Linked DNA regions of Homo sapiens: region 2 is linked to region 1. The links are contacts of gene promoters, found by promoter capture Hi-C in blood cells and fetal thymus (Javierre and others, 2016). All regions are on one chromosome and are shown on one strand. The core of a region is centred on a gene start or on the middle of the fragment in contact, and the rest is flanking DNA. Distances in the headings are between cores, read along the strand shown.

The links. Contacts are between HindIII fragments. The CHiCAGO score rates a contact against its expected background, and 5 or more counts as called.
Region 2: a fragment that was not itself captured here is called in contact with the fragment with the promoter of TAOK1 in region 1 in 2 of 17 cell types (M1 macrophages and M2 macrophages); the score reaches 5.4 in M1 macrophages.

What each region holds. Positions count from the first base shown.
Region 1 is chr17:29,385,660-29,393,347 of GRCh38, forward strand. TAOK1 (TAO kinase 1) reads left to right here and starts at 4,704. Exons shown (of 20, transcript NM_020791.4): 1 at 4,704-5,365. MIR4523 (microRNA 4523) reads left to right here and starts at 5,003; the gene lies at 5,003-5,071. It also overlaps the pseudogene RNU4-34P. RefSeq lists enhancers at 4,260-4,499, 4,620-4,709, 5,870-6,109 and a silencer at 4,750-5,219. The HindIII fragment of the contact is 16,274 bases long and covers 191-7,688 here.
Region 2 is chr17:29,469,266-29,476,953 of GRCh38, forward strand. It overlaps TAOK1 (TAO kinase 1), which reads left to right. Exons shown (of 20, transcript NM_020791.4): 4 at 6,405-6,506. Among named protein-coding and RNA genes, the nearest start is that of MIR4523, 82 kb to the left of the region's middle. The HindIII fragment of the contact is 175 bases long and covers 4,972-5,146 here.

The DNA of each region.
Region 1 (7,688 bases), core at 3,454-5,953:
ACCATGAAACTTGCCTTTTATTTCTCCTCTTCATAAATTTACTCAACACAGAAATGTTAGAATGTTGTAAATGTAGAATTTGAAGGCATTTGAGACTTTGTGAGGATGAGATCAGAACTTGGAGCTTATGAACCATAGACATGCTTCTATAAGCAATTTAAGCAGGCTTCACATAGATCATATGGAGGAAAGCTTGCATCTTGGTAGTTTATTTTATGCAACAGAGGGATGCTGGATGAGGGAGATGGGGTCTGTGTGGGAGGAACTCCATAGAAAGTCTAGATTTACATCATCCCAGTTTATGAGCCCAAAGGCAAAGCAAAACTTCTCACTCTCACAAAGCAGTATATAAAATCCAAATGAACATCTCTGAGTGGTCCAGCTTGGGCTCTGGGTCATGTACCCTTCCCTGGCCCAGTTGCTTCACCAAGGGGTGAGCTATTTTGGTTGCCCACGCTGTGACGGCGTGCCCATCTGTAGCAAGAGGCCCAGAGTAACAACCCCACAAGAACTCCACAGAACAACAGACAGGAAAGTTCTCTAAGAACTGTAGAGTAATTAAAAAAATTTTTTTTTGAGACAGGGTCTCACTTTGTCACCCAGGCTTGAGTGCAGTGGTGTAAACAGGGCTCACTGCAGCCTCAACTTCCCAGACTCAAGTGATCCTCCCACCTCAGCCTCCCTAGTAGCTGGGACTATAGGTGCACACCAGCACACCCAGCTAATTTTTGTAGAGATGGGGTTTCCCCATGTTGACCAGGCTGGTCTCAAACTCCTGAGCTCAAGTGATCTACCTACCTCAGCCTCCCAAAGTGCTGGGATTGCAAGTGTGAACCACCACACCCGGCCATAGGGTACTTTTTGCCAGAAGAAGAGGGAGAAATTTGGGACAGACAAGAATAACAGATGTTCACTACAAGTGGAATAGAACTGCTAGTGAGGCTAACTGATACGTTTTTTGTGGGGATGCTAGCTAGAGTAGAATATATTAGCACTTGTGGTCAGGTGAAATAAAGCAGCTATCACCTGGATACAACAGAACTTTCATATCCAGACAGGATCTTCACTATAAGTCTGAGACATGGGTAGGGCATATTCATTTTACAGTATATGCTTTTGGGAGTCAAGAGACACAGAGAAGCATAGCAGAAAACACATCATTTACATGACAGGACCGGCTATAACTCCGATACGTACATCAGTTTGGGAAGCAGGTGACTTCTAGACATTCTTAGAACCTTAGACAATCCTGAAAACATTTGACATGTGTAAGACTCCAGAAATACCCATCGGCCAGGCACATAGTGCCAAAGTGACAGTAACCTCCAGAGAACTCTAGCATGTGTGTACACCTTTTCCTAGAGTTCTCTGTCACACTAACATTTGCAGCAGCTATTCTTCCATACACTCCAGGCAAACAGCTTTCATTCACTCACTCTTCTTGACATCTCCCACACCTAACCCAATTTCTGACACATAGGAGAAAATGTCTGCAGAATTATTGAACTGATAGCAAACATTTGTTGAATGTCATTATGTACATTATGCTAAGTTTGTGGACATAGATATAAATAAGACAAATATTCATATGCTTGTGAAGATCACAGCCTGGTGGGAAAGGCCAAAAAATAAACAGTTCTGTGTGAGGACTATTTGGTTGCAAACAAAAGAGAACCAGACCCAACGTTAGCTTAAGAAAAATGGGAATGTTTTAGCACACAAATGCTAAAAACTCCAGGGTCAGGACTGACTTCAGACAGAGTTAGTTCCAGGGCTTCAGTGATCTGGTTTTATCTCCAGAATGTGTTTCCCACTGAGTTGCCTTTGTTCTGGGGCTTCACAGCAAAAGGCAATAGCAATTCCAGTCCTTACATTCTCTCAAGGAAATAGAATGTAGTGGCTCTGAGAACTGCTTGAACCCGGGAGGTGGAGGTTGCAGTGAGCTGAGATCGTGACACTGCACTCCAGCCTGGGCAACAGAGCGAGACTCCGTCCCAAAAAAAAAAAAAAAAAAGAATATAGACCGAGCACAGTGGCTCAGCTTGTAATCCCATCACTTTGGGAGGCCAAGGCGGGTGAATCACGAGATCAGGGGTTCGAGACCAGCCTGGCCAATATGGTGAACCCCCCCCCGTCTCTACTAAAAATACAAAAATTAGCCGGGCGCAGTGACACGCGCCTGTAGTCCCAGCTATTCAGGAGGCTGAGGTAGAAGAATTGCTTGAACCCGGGAGGCAGAGATTGCAGTGAGCTGAGATCGCGCCATGGCACTCCAGCCTGGGCGACAGAGTGAGACTCTGTCTCAAAAAAAAGAAAAAAAGAAAAAAAAGAACACAGTGGTTCTGGATGAAAGCTGAGTTTGACAACTGGCTTCACCACAAACTGGCTATAAGAACTTTGACAAGTTAATCAAAATTCTTCTCTGTGCCTCAGTGCCACTCTTTCTTTCTTTCTCTCTCTCTCTCTTTCTTTCTTTTTGACAGAGTCTCGTTCTGTTGGCCAGGCTGGAGTGCAGTGGCACAATCTCCTCTCACTGCAACCTCTGTCTCCTGGGCTCAAGCAATTCTCTTGCCTCAGCCTCCTGAGTAGCTGGGATTACAGGCGTGTACCACCATGCCCGGCTAATTTTTTTCACGATGTTGGCCAGGCTGGTCTCGAACTCCTGACCTCAGGTAATCTGCCCACCTCAGCCTCCCAAAGTGCTGGGATTACAGGCATGAGCCACCGTGCCAGGCCCAGTTCCACCATTTCTAAAAGGGAATAATAATTATACCCACCCAATATGGTTATTGTGAGGAGTAAATAAGTAGAGTGTTTAGAACTCTCTCTGGCATATAATCAGCACTCAATACGTGTTAACTATTTCACTATTTTTGTTATCATCATCATCAAATTTCAGAAACTTTGTGCAGTGGCAGTATTGTAGCCAATGAGATTTATCCGAGGTGTGATTATTGCTCATTGAAAAATCATAGGCTGGGCACGGTGGCTCACATCTGTAATCTTAGTACTTTGGGAGGCCGAAGCAGGTGGATCCTTTGAGGCCAGGAGTTCAAGACCAGCCTGGGCAACATGGCGAAACCCATCTCTACAAAAAATACAAAACTTAGCCAGCACGGTGGCATATGCCTGTAGTTCCGGTTACTTGGGAGACTGAGGTAGCAGAATCATTTGATCCTGGGAGGCAGAGGTTGCAGTGAGCCAGGATCACACCACTGGATTCCATTTTGGGAGTTCAATATATATATTACATTTTTGGGAGAAAATAAGAAAGTTTCTTTCCCAAAAAGCCAGAGAAAATCTTATTGTACCCATTGGCTCTAATTGGATCATGTGCCCATCCCTGAGCCAGACTAGAGGAAGGTCATACATACACTGTATACACGGATTGCTTAGGTCTGATCAACATGCTCCTTCCTTGGAGCACAGATCTACTATGGCCAGCCTGGTCTCGAACTCCTGACCTCAGGTGATCCGCCCGTCTCAGCCTCCCAAAGTGCTATAATTACAGGCGTGAGCCACCGGGCCCGGCCCAGAGTTAATTTTTATTCATGAAACTCATATAACAGGTTTATTTATTTCAGTCGTTTTGTTGGTTAAAGAACCAAGATTTTTTATGACTACACTTTGTGTACACTTTTAGGTTCTCTCTTTTTTTTTTTTTTTTTTGAGACGAGTCTCATTCTGTCGCCCAGGCTGGAGTGCAGTGGCGCAATCTCGGCTCACTGCAACCTCCGCCTCCCGGGTTCACGCCATTCTCCTGCCTCAGCCTCCCGAGTAGCTAGCTGGGACTACAGGCGCCCACCACCACGCCCGGCTAATTTTTTTCTATCTTTTAATAGAGACGGGGTTTCACCGTGTTAGCCAGGATGCTCTCGATCTCCTGACCTCGTGATCCGCCCGCCTCGGCCTCCCAAAGTGCTGGGATTACAGGCGTGAGCCACCGCGCCCGGCCTTACACTTTTAGGTTCTTGAATAAGTACTGAGGGAGTTTTCCCTAAAAAAAAAAAAAAAAGTTTTGAGATAAAAGAATAAAAACTCTACTTCTTCTTTGCATAGGAGTCTTTAGTTTGTTTGCTGCTCTTGTTCCAAAACTTCTCATTACTCAACCTACTAAACCCACAGACACTTTTCAAGAAGTTATCTCTTTTCTACATCACCAATATATAGGGTGGCTTAGATCTGTATTTCCAAGTCTTACTGTCGTTCCAAGAATTAGTATCAACTATTAGAATCTCAAAAACTCAACTGCATACTGATTGCGCTGCCCAGTGTACCTCTGAATCCCACGGGGGAGGGGGTGTAGAACCGAGTTGTGCAGGAATGGGATATTCCACACTTCAGGGCAAACTTATTCGCAGGATCAGTGGCGGGCTTTGGAGGTGGGAAGCAGGAAGGAAGGGGAATGCAGATAAACTCTTCTTCTTCAGATCTCCGGGGTGAAATGAATGCACCTGACGCCCGCGTGGCATTAGAAGCTCCGCGAACTCAGTGAGGCCATGCTGGACAGAGGCTGGAACTCCGGGCCACCGGGACAACTCTGCCCGTAGCAAGCCTTGCGCGCTCCTGTGAGGGCGCGCGCGCGCGCATGTAGTCGTGTCTCGCGCAGGGTCCGGCCTGTCAGGCGGAAAATCTCGCGAGATCGGAGACGGGGGATGACGGTCTGGAGGAGGGGAGTGGTGTCGGGTAAAGGGGGGGAAGCTGGGCAGCGGCCGGGCTCTGTGGCTTCAGGGCTCGGGGAGAGAGAGGGAGGGTGGCAAAGAGACTGAGTCGGTGCCGCCGCCTGCCTGAGGAGAGAGGAGGGGTCCCGCTCGCCCTGCGCCCTTCGCGGGCCGAAAGCACTAGGCACTCGCGAACATCTGAGGCCTCCCGGCCCCGGGGGACCCCGCCCCGCCGTCCGCCGGCCGGCCCGCGGCCTCTCTTCCCTTTGTGAGCGCCTCCTTACCAGGGGTGGTGTTGGTGGCGGAGGGCTGCGCGTGGGCCCGCCCGCCGAGGGGCCGCGGCGGGGGACCGAGAGGGCCTCGGCTGTGTGAGGACTAGAGGCGGCCGAGGCCCGGGCCGGTTCCCCCGAGGCGGCGACGGAGACGGCTCCCGGCACTTCCCCGCGCCATCTTAACTGAGCCCAAGCGCTGAGGGCGCCTCCTCGACCCCGGTCGTCCCCTCGCCCCCCCCCCCACCCCCCGCCGCCGCCGCCCCTTGTTGCAGAGCTTGGGCTGGGCGGCTTGCTGGGGCTCGGGGGTGGGGGGCGGCGATCTGTCGCCGGGCCCCCTCCTCCTCCTCACTCCTCACCCTCCAGGGTAGCGGCTACCGGAGCGCTGCAGGGGGCTGCGCCTGCCTGCTCCGCCCCAGACCTGTCGGCGAAAGGGTAAGGGCACCTCTGCTTTGGGAAAGGGGGATATAGAGGGGGGCGGGGAAATTCGGCCCACTCGGGCCTGTGTGTGGAAGAAGGGATGTGGGAGTGGGGTGGGGGAGGGAGAAAAGGAGGGTCTGTGATTCTGTGGGTGGGGTGAAGAAGCTGGTGAGCTGGGCGCCCTCCGGTTTTAAGGGGCGAGAGCAATTCCATTCCTTTTTCCTGAGGGTCACCGGAAGGGGTGGTGGAAGGGGGATGTTTCGAGGAAGGTGTGGCCCTCACAGGGAGACTGGGTTGATGTGCACCCCGGTTTAAAGGCGCGAGGTCCCCTTCCCCTCTGGTGCCTTTGCTCCTCTTCTCCTTTGTAGTGTCTGTGTATTCTTGGGAAGGGAGACTGCTCTGGGTGGCTTGCTGGGTGGATTCCACCCCCTAGCACAGGAAATCTATACCCCTCTTCTGTAGGGGCGATGGAAGCGTTTCTCTCCCCGTACCCTTCCCCCTTCCCCATCCTCTAGTCTACTGCAATGCTGCAGAAGTCCAAGGCAGTTTCTTCATACACAGACCCATGTATACACAGAAGGGAGGGGGAGCAGGAGAGGGAAGTAATGGCGCTTCCCTTGAAAAGGTTACTCTTTTTCCTTTGGTTTTAAATCGACGACAGTATCGTTTTAATACTCTTCCCCTGAGATCTGTCCATGGGAAGTGTATCTGTTCTGGTGTTATTGTTGGGGGATATGGCCTCTCGAGAGGGACACCTCTCCTGTTAGAACAGTTTTGATGTCTCTCTTTTTGAGAGATGTCTGGATTGACATTTTTTGTGAGCAGGTTGGATTTTAGTTAGAATTCAAATAAAATAATTTTGTACCTCCTCATCCTCATTTCCCTTTTCTTTTTCTATGACTTTTGTAGTTCATGAAGAATTATTGGCCTGGCGCGGTGGCTCACGCCTGTAATCCCAGCACTTTGGGAGGCCAAGGCGGGCGGATCACGAAGTCAGGAGATCGAGACCATCCTGGCTAACACGGTGAAACCCCGTCTCTGCTAAAAATACAAAAAATTAGCTGGGCATGGTGGCACGCGCCTGTAGTCCCAGCTACTCGGGAGGCTGAGGGAGGAGAATCGCTTGAACCCGGGAGGCGGAGGTTGCAGTGAGGCGAGATGGTGCCACTGCACTCCAACCTGGGCGACAGAGCGAGACTCCGTTTCAAAAAAAAAAATTATTAACAATTATTACATACAGACAGCCTGTCTGATTCAGGGCATTTCTCCCTAAGCTGTGAATTTTTAGGGTTGATACTGTTGTGTATAATATTGAAATTGGATTTTTTTTAAAATGGTAAGGTTACAAACCTTTCTGCAGCTGTTTCTTTGTTCTTATTAATCTGCCTAATTATTCTATGATCTATTTTCTGTAGTCAGTCATTTTTCACTTCTTTTGCTACCTGTCATGTTTGTCTGAAAGCAGATCATCTTATCTGGTTTACAGTAGTACTTGTTGGTTTTGTTCTTAGTTGAGTAGAAATAAAAATTTAAACATTCTGGAAATGTGCTGCCAAGTGCTTTTTGTGACCAAAGAGTAGTTTTCAAGTCTCCATGTACTGATGATACATTTTTTTCAAGTGTTTAGTAAATACTGGTGATGTGATTTCAAAATATTCCACATATGACTATTAATAGAATTAATTTTTTCCCAAAGTGAAGAAGAAGACTAAAATGTGTACAGATAATGAGTTGTCTTTGGTGTATTTAGTGTTTTCAGCTCTACTTAGTGACTTATTTTTAAATACTTCAAATGCCATCTACATTTTATGTTGTCATTAAATGTTGTCCAATAGAGCTTTTTTGGTGTGTTTGTTGCATTTTGAAACCTGTTTTAAGATAGGGATTTAAAGGTGTTAGTAGTAGCGCTAGGCACTAACTTAGTTTCTGTCATTTTATATCATGATTTTGATGTAGGAGACATGGTATGTTAAATAAGTTTTATTTTTTTTTCTCAGAAGATGGAATTCTCTTTTCTTTATTCCCTTTTAATGGTCATCTCAATTCATTGAAATAACACTATTCATTTGAGTATTTATTTCATGGGACAAAGCTGCATGTTGTTGATATGTAGAGTTTTCTCCATTATGGCAAATTATGCCAGGAAGTCTGATTCTCCGTATTATGGCTTGTTGTTGATAATTATTTCATATATACTAGCATGTGTTGATCGAAGCATACTGCTCAGTAAGGAGTGACTGCTTTTACCTTGGGAAGTTGTAGGCAGAGAGGATTTATCAATAGAGGCTACAAAACTTAAAGGATTTACATAGGGTGTAGGTTAACTATTTACTTGCTA
Region 2 (7,688 bases), core at 3,809-6,308, 84 kb after region 1:
AAAACTCTAGAATTCTCTTTAATCTTTAAATTTTTTAAAATTATTTTTAATTGTGGTAAAATACAACATAAAATTTGCCATTTTAACTATTTTCAATTCCACATTTCAGTGGAATTAAGTGCATTCACGTTGTGCAACCATTATCACCATGCGTCTCTAGAATTCTTTTTATCTTGCAACATTAAAACTCTGTAGTCATTAAGCAATAATTCCCCAGCCTCTTGCAACCACCAGTCTACTTTCTGTCTCCATAAATTTGACTAGGTACTTAATATAAGTGGAATCATTTGGGATTTGTCTGTTTGTGACTAGCTTATATCACGTAACCTAATATCCCCAAAGTTCATCCATGTTGTAGTTATGTCAGAATTTCCTTCCTTTTTAAGTCTGAAAAATATTCCATTGGGTGTATGTATATCTACATATGTATCTATATCTGTCTGTTTCAGAGTCTGATTAGTCACACCTAGAACAAAAATTTTCATTTACCACATCATCTTTTAATATCTAATGTTGGCGTCCTTCATGAAAATTTTTTTATGTTAAGGAATACATTTTTTTGAGTCTGCCTTCCAGATTATTCAAATTTGAAACTTAAAGACCATAGAACAGATTTTCTGGATTTAGCATTTTATAATGTATCTTCCACATTTTACACAAAACACCGGAACATATTTTGCTGTGTTCTGTTAAGGCCTTGTGAAATAACATAGGAGGTATATGATCTTAAATCTAGTATACAACATTTCTTATTCTATTTATACTGCTTCCCTTGCCATTAAGAATATAGCCCAAATCAGTGATAAAACTTAAAATAATTAAAAAGAGCAAAAACAGATTTCTAGTCCTCCTCTCACACCTCCTAAATCTGTGGAATTTCTGGGTATGGACCAAAGGATCTGTATTTTTAGAGTTCTTGGGTTGCTTCTTAAGAGTAACTATGTTTAGGATGTGGCCTAAGTATTTAAGGTTGTCATGAAGTAGCTTAAGACCAAAGGTTTAACTGTATTTCCTGATAGGTATAGGTATTAGTGAATAAGGCTCTTAGTAAACTATGTAGGAAAAGATTTTTGTACTGCTTGGTTTTTTTCTGTGAACTTTTATATATAATAGCTAATTATTCACTAGCATTTTAGAGTCTGCATTTAGGAACTTAAATCTCAGAGGAATTACTTCATTTGAGTTAAACCCTAACATTTGGTAATAGAAATGAGCCAAAAACACAACAGGTGAACTTTATGGTATATAAATTATATATCAATAAAACTGTATTAAAAAAAAGAAAGGTTGGACTTTTGAAGAAAAATCACTGAATATGGTATATAGTTATCAACATGATTGGTGTATGGTTGTAAAATTTTAATGAGTCATTAATGATAAATTTTATCAAACTCAAATTTGTCTTACCTACCTTGAGTGAAATAATTTTGTAAATTATATAATTGAGTTGTAAACTATAGGCATGACTTGGAGATATTGTGGGTTTTGTTCTCAACCACTACAATAAAGCAAATATCATAATAAAGCAAGTCACATGAATTTTTTGGTGCCCAGTGCATATGAAAATTATGTCTAGGCCTGGCACAGTGGCTTACGCCTGTAATCCCAGCACTTTGGAAGGCCGAGGCAGGCGGATCACTTGAGGTCAGGAGTTTGAGACCAGCCTGGCCAATGTGGTGGAAAACCCTGTCTCTACTAAAAATACAAAAATTAGCCAGGCATGGTTGCAGGTGCCTGTAATTCCAAGGTACTTGGGAGGCTGAGGCAGGATAATCACTTGAACCCAGGAGGAAGAGGTACAAGAATCACTTGAACCCAGGAGGCGAAGGCTGCAGTGAGTCAAGATTGTGCCACTGCACTCCAGCCTGGACAACAACACAAGACTTCATCTAAAAAATATATATATATATATGTCCATGCTATACTGTAGTACCGTAGTCCATTAAGTGTGCAATAACATTTTGTCTAAAAAAGACAGTGTACGTACCTTAATTTTAAAATATTTTCTTTCTTTTTTTTTTTTTTTTTTTTTTGAGATGAAGTCTCACTCTGTCGCCAGGCTGGAGTGCAGTGGCGCAATCTTGGTTCACTGCGACCTTCGCCTCCCGGGTTCAAGTGATTCTCCTGCTTGCCTCCCGAGTAGCTGGGACTACAGGTGCCCGCTACCACGCCTGGCTAATTTTTTGTATTTTTAGTAGAGACGGGGTTTCATCATCTTGGCCAGGATGGTCTCGATCTCTTGACCTCGTGATCCCCCCACCTCGGCCTCCCAAAGTGCTGGAATTACAGGCGTGAGCCACCGCGCCCAGCTTAAAATATTTTATTTCTAAAAAAAAGTTAATGATAATTTGAGCCTTCAGCATGTCATACTATTTTTGCTGGTTGAGAATCTTGCTTCCATGTTGATGGCTTCTGACTGATCAGGGTAGTGGTTGCTGAAGGTTAAGGTGGCTGTGGCAATTTCTTAAAATCTGACAACAGTGAAGTTTGCCCATCAGTTTTCTCTTTCACAAAAGATTTCTCTGTAGAATGCAATGATGTTTGACAGCATTTTACCCATGATAAAACTTTCAAAATTGGAGTCCATCCTCTGTAACTCTGTTACTGCTTTATCAACTAAGTTTATGTAATATTCAGAAATTACTTTCTTTGCCCATCTATTACAAATAGTTTCTCATCCACTCAAGTTTTATCATGAAATTGCAGCAGTGTAGTCACATCTTCAGGCTCCATGTGTAATTCCAGTTTTCCTGCTGTTTCCACCACATCTGCAATTATTTCCTCCACTGAAATATTGAACCCCCCAAAGTCATCCATGAGGGTTGGAATCCACTTATTGCAAACTCCTGATAATGTTGCTAATTTGCCCTCCCATGAGTCGGAAACGTTCTTAATGGCATCTAGAATGAATTATTTCCAGAAGATTCTCAATTTACTTTGCCCATATCCATCAGACAAATTGCTGTCTATGGCAGCTATAGCCGTTGTGTGTTTTTTTTTTTTTTGAGATGGAGTTCATTCTTGTCGCCCAGGCTGGAGTGCAATGGCATGATCTCGGCTCACTGCAACCTCTGCCTCCCGGGTTCAAGCGATTCTCCTGCCTCAGCCTCTCGAGTAACTGAGATTATAGGCCTGCATCCCCATGCCTGGCTGATTTTTGTATTATTAGTAGAGACAGGGTTTTGCCATGTTGGCCAGGCTGGTCTCGAACTCCTGACCTCAGGTGATCCACCTGCCTCGGCCTCCCAAAGTGTTGGGATTACAGGCGTGAACCACCATGCCCAGCTGCTATAGCCTTTCTTTCTTTCTTTTTTTTTTTTTTTTTGAGATGGAGTTTCGCTCTTGTTGCCCAGGCTGGGGTGCAATGGCACTATCTCGGCTCACCGCAACCTCCGCCCCGCTGGGTTCAAGTGATTCTCCTGCCTCAGCCTCCCAAGTAGCTGGGATTACAGTCATGCACCACCACGCCCGGCTCATTTTGTATTTTTTTAGTAGAGACAGGGTTTCTCCATGTCGGTCAGGCTAGTCCTGAACTCCCGACCTCAGGTGATCCGCCCGCCTCGGCCTCCCAAAGTGCTGGGATTACAGGCGTGAGCCACTGTGCCCTGCTGGCCTTTCTTAAATAATAAGGCTTGGAACTCAAAATTATTCCTTGATCCATGGGCTGCAGAATGGATGGTGTATTAGCAGGAATAAAAACAACATAAATCTCCTTTTATATCTCTATCAGAGTTCTTGGGTGGCTAGGTACACGGGCAAAGACCAGTAATATTTTGAAAGGAATCTTTCTGAGCAGTAAATCTCAACCGTGGCCTTAAAATATTCACTAAACCATGCTTAAATGGATGTACTGTCATCCAGGCTTTGTTGTTTCATTGAACAAGCACAGGCAGAGTAGGAGTTTTGGAATGGTAAATGTGCATTGACTTCAACTTAAAATCACAAGCTGCATTAGCCCCTAACAAGAGAGTCAGCCTGTCCTTTGAAGCTTTGAAACCAGGCATTTCATAGTTGCTCTGTAGCCATGAAAGTCCTAGATGGTATCTTCTTCCAATATAAGGCTATTTCATCTACACTGAAGATCTGTTGACTGGGCATGGTGGCTCACACCTGTAATCTCAGCACTTTGGGAGGCCAAGGTAGGTGGATCACTTGAGGCCAGGAGTTCGAGACCAGCTTGGCCAACATGGTGAAACCCCGTCTCTGCTGAAAATAGAAAAATTACCCAGATGTGGTGGCAGGAGGAATGCTTGAACCCAGGAGGCAGAAGTTGTAGTGAGCCAAGATCATGCCACTGCACTCCAGTGTGGATGGCAGAGTGAAACTCTCAAAAAAAAAAAAAAAAAATCTGTTGCGTAATGTAGCCACCTTCATCAATGACACATTGGCTAGATCTTCTGGATAACTTGCATGTAGCCTCTACATCAGTACTTGCTGCTTCACCTTGCACTTTTCTTTCTTTCTTTTTCTTTTTTTTTTGAGACAGAGTCTCTCTCTGTTGCCCAGGCTAGAGTGCAGTGGCACTATCTTGGCTCACTGCAGCCTCCGCCTCCTGGGTTCAAACGATTCTCCTTCCTCTGCGTTTCCTCCCTAGTAGCTAGGACTACAGGCACGCATCACCACACCTGGCTAATTTTTGTGTGTTTAGTGGAGATGGGGTTTCACCTTGTTGGCCAGGCTGGTCTTGAACTCCTGACCTCAAGTGATCTGTCCGCCTTGGTCTCCCAAAATGCTGGGATTGATTATAGGAGTGAGCTACCGTGCCGGCCTACCTTGCATTTTTATTTTACGGAGATAATTTCTTTCCTTAAACCTGATGAAGCAACCTCTACTAGCTTCCAACTTTTCTTCTTCAGCTTTCTCACCTCTCTCAGCCTTTGTAGAGTTAAAGAGAGTTAGGGCCATCCTCTAGATTAGACTTTGTTTTACGGGAATGTTGTCGCTGATTTGATTTTCTATCCAGACCATTAAAGCTTTCTTCACATCAACAATAAACTTGTTTTACCTTCTTATCATTCATATATTCACTGGAGTAGCACTTTAAATTTTCTTCAATAACTTTTTCTTTGCATTTACAACTTGGCTATTTGGTGCAAAAGGCCTAGCTTCAAAGCCTGTCTCAGCTTTTGACATGCCTTTCTCACTAAGCTTAATCACTTGTAAGTTTTGAATTGAAGTGACAGATGTGTGAGTATTCCGTTCACTTGAACACTTAGGGGTCACTGTGGGGTTATTGATGGCCTAATTTCAACATTATTGTGTCTCAGAGAATAGGGAGGCCCAAGGAAAGGGAGACAGACTGGGGAATGGCTGGCTGGTGGAACTGTGAGAATACATGTTTATTGATTAAATTCACCATCTTATATGGGCACAGTTCATGGCTCCCCAAAACAATTACAATAGTAATGTAAACAATTACTGATCACAGATCACCATAACAGATATAATAATAATGATGAAAAAGTTTCAAATATTGTGAGAGTTACCAAAAGGTGACACAAAGACATCAAGTGAGCCCATGCTATTGGAAAAATGGTGCTGGTAGACTTGCTTTGACACAGGATTGCTACAAACCTTCAATTTGTTTTAAAAAAAAAAAAGTAACATCTGTGAAGTACAATAAAGCAAAGTGCTGTAAATTGAGATATGCCTGTATATGAATGTTATTTATTTATTTATTTGTTTTATTTTTGAGACCGAGTTTCGCTCTGTCACCAGGCTGGAGTGCAGTGTGGCTCGATCTCGGCTCACTGCAACCTCCACCTCCCGTGTTCAAGCTATTCTCCTGCCTCAGCCTCCCGAGTACCTGGGACTATAGGTGCACACCACCACGCCCAGCTAATTTTTGTATTTTTAGTAGAGACACGGTTTCACCATGTTGGCCAGGATGGTCTCAATCTCCTGACCTTGTGATCCACCTGCTTCAGCCTCCCAAAGTGCTGGGATTACAGGCGTGAGCCACTGTACCTGGCTGAATATAATTTATTTAAACTTTTTAATTTTGACATTTTATCTAAAAATGACCATATTTTGGGAGGCCAAGACAAGTGAATCACTTGAGGTCAGGAGTTTGAGACCAGTCTGAGCAATGCAGTGAAACCCCATCTGTACAAAAAATAGAAAAATTAGATGAGCATGGTGGTGTGCGCCTGTAGACCCAAATACTTGGGAGGCTGAGGTGGGAGGATCACTTGAGCCCACAAGATGGAGGTTGCAGTTAGCTGAGATTGTGCCACTGCACTCCAGCCTGGGTGAAAGAGCAAGACCCTCCCAATAAATAAGTAAAACCAAGCAAAGTTGCATGTTCTTGTTAACTCTTCTAAATTTAGTAATTACTTTTATTCTTATATAACTTTCTGAGGAAAAGTCCTGTTCATAATTCTTTACCTTTTTTCTCCCCACAGAAATGGCAGGATATTATTAAGGAAGTCAAGTTTCTACAAAGAATAAAACATCCCAACAGTATAGAATACAAAGGCTGTTATTTACGTGAACACACAGCATGGGTTGGTATTTGTTCTCCCCTTGTTGCAGTTTTAGCTGATTTTGGTTTATAATGAATTAATTCAGAATATCTCATACTGGTTGTGTAAATGCATGCAAAAACACCTGAAATGTTAGTTCGTACTGAAAGAAAACAAGCAATATTTCCTAGAACTTGTAGGCAGTAAGAGATAATAGAACTTTTGCAAGTCTCACTGCAGAGATTTTTCAGAATTCTGTTGACCTTTGTATGTATGATAAAATGTCCTATGACAGTTTTAGTAGTACCATTCAAACATTGTGAAAACAATCATGTTACTTGAGGTTGAAAGTTAGCATATGTTTTCTTGACATAAATGTACTGTAATGCATTTAACCAGAAAGATCATGATGAAATTTGGGTGAATCCTGGTGAAATTTGAGCTGATCACGATTCCTTGGTCGAATAACACTAAAGATAGAGAATTGTTGCACTTTATTATAAGAAGTAGAAATTTATTTTGCCCTTTTGTTACCAGGAATGGCCCCTTATTTTGAATAATTAATAAGTCACAGCTAAGTATCATTTTAGTATACGTACTGTAGATTTAGATTTGTAGTGTTTGGTGCATTTTTATCCAGTTTGTTTTGGTAGTGGTAGTGGTGACTTGTAAAATTGAGGCTATGATTAAAGAAAAAGTAACATTAGATGGGTAACCTCTCTGCCTCTCAGGGTTCTCCAACCATAAAACAAGGATACTAATAGGACCTACCTCATAAGATTATTCTGAGGATTAAATTGGTTACTATATAAAAAATACCTGGCACATAGGAGGTGCTCTGTGTTTGCTTTCAAAGAAACAGTTGTAACCTAAGCTTTGTATAGTTTTTCCTCAGTATCTGTGGGGGATTTGGTTCCAGGACACCCACCCCCAGGATACCAAATCCCTTCTATAAAATGGAGTATCTGCACATAACCTGGGCACATCCACCTATTATTTTTTCAATCATCTGTAGATTAGTTATAATACCACAATGTGAATGCCATGTAAATAGTTGTTACGTTATATTGGCTTTTTGTTTTATTTTTATTGTTATATTGTCATTTTTTAAAATTTTATTTATTTATTTATTTTGAGACAGAGTCTCACTCTGTCGCCCAGGCTGGAGTTCAGTGGCGCAATCACGGCTCACTGCAAGCTCCGCCTCCCAGGTTCATGCCATTC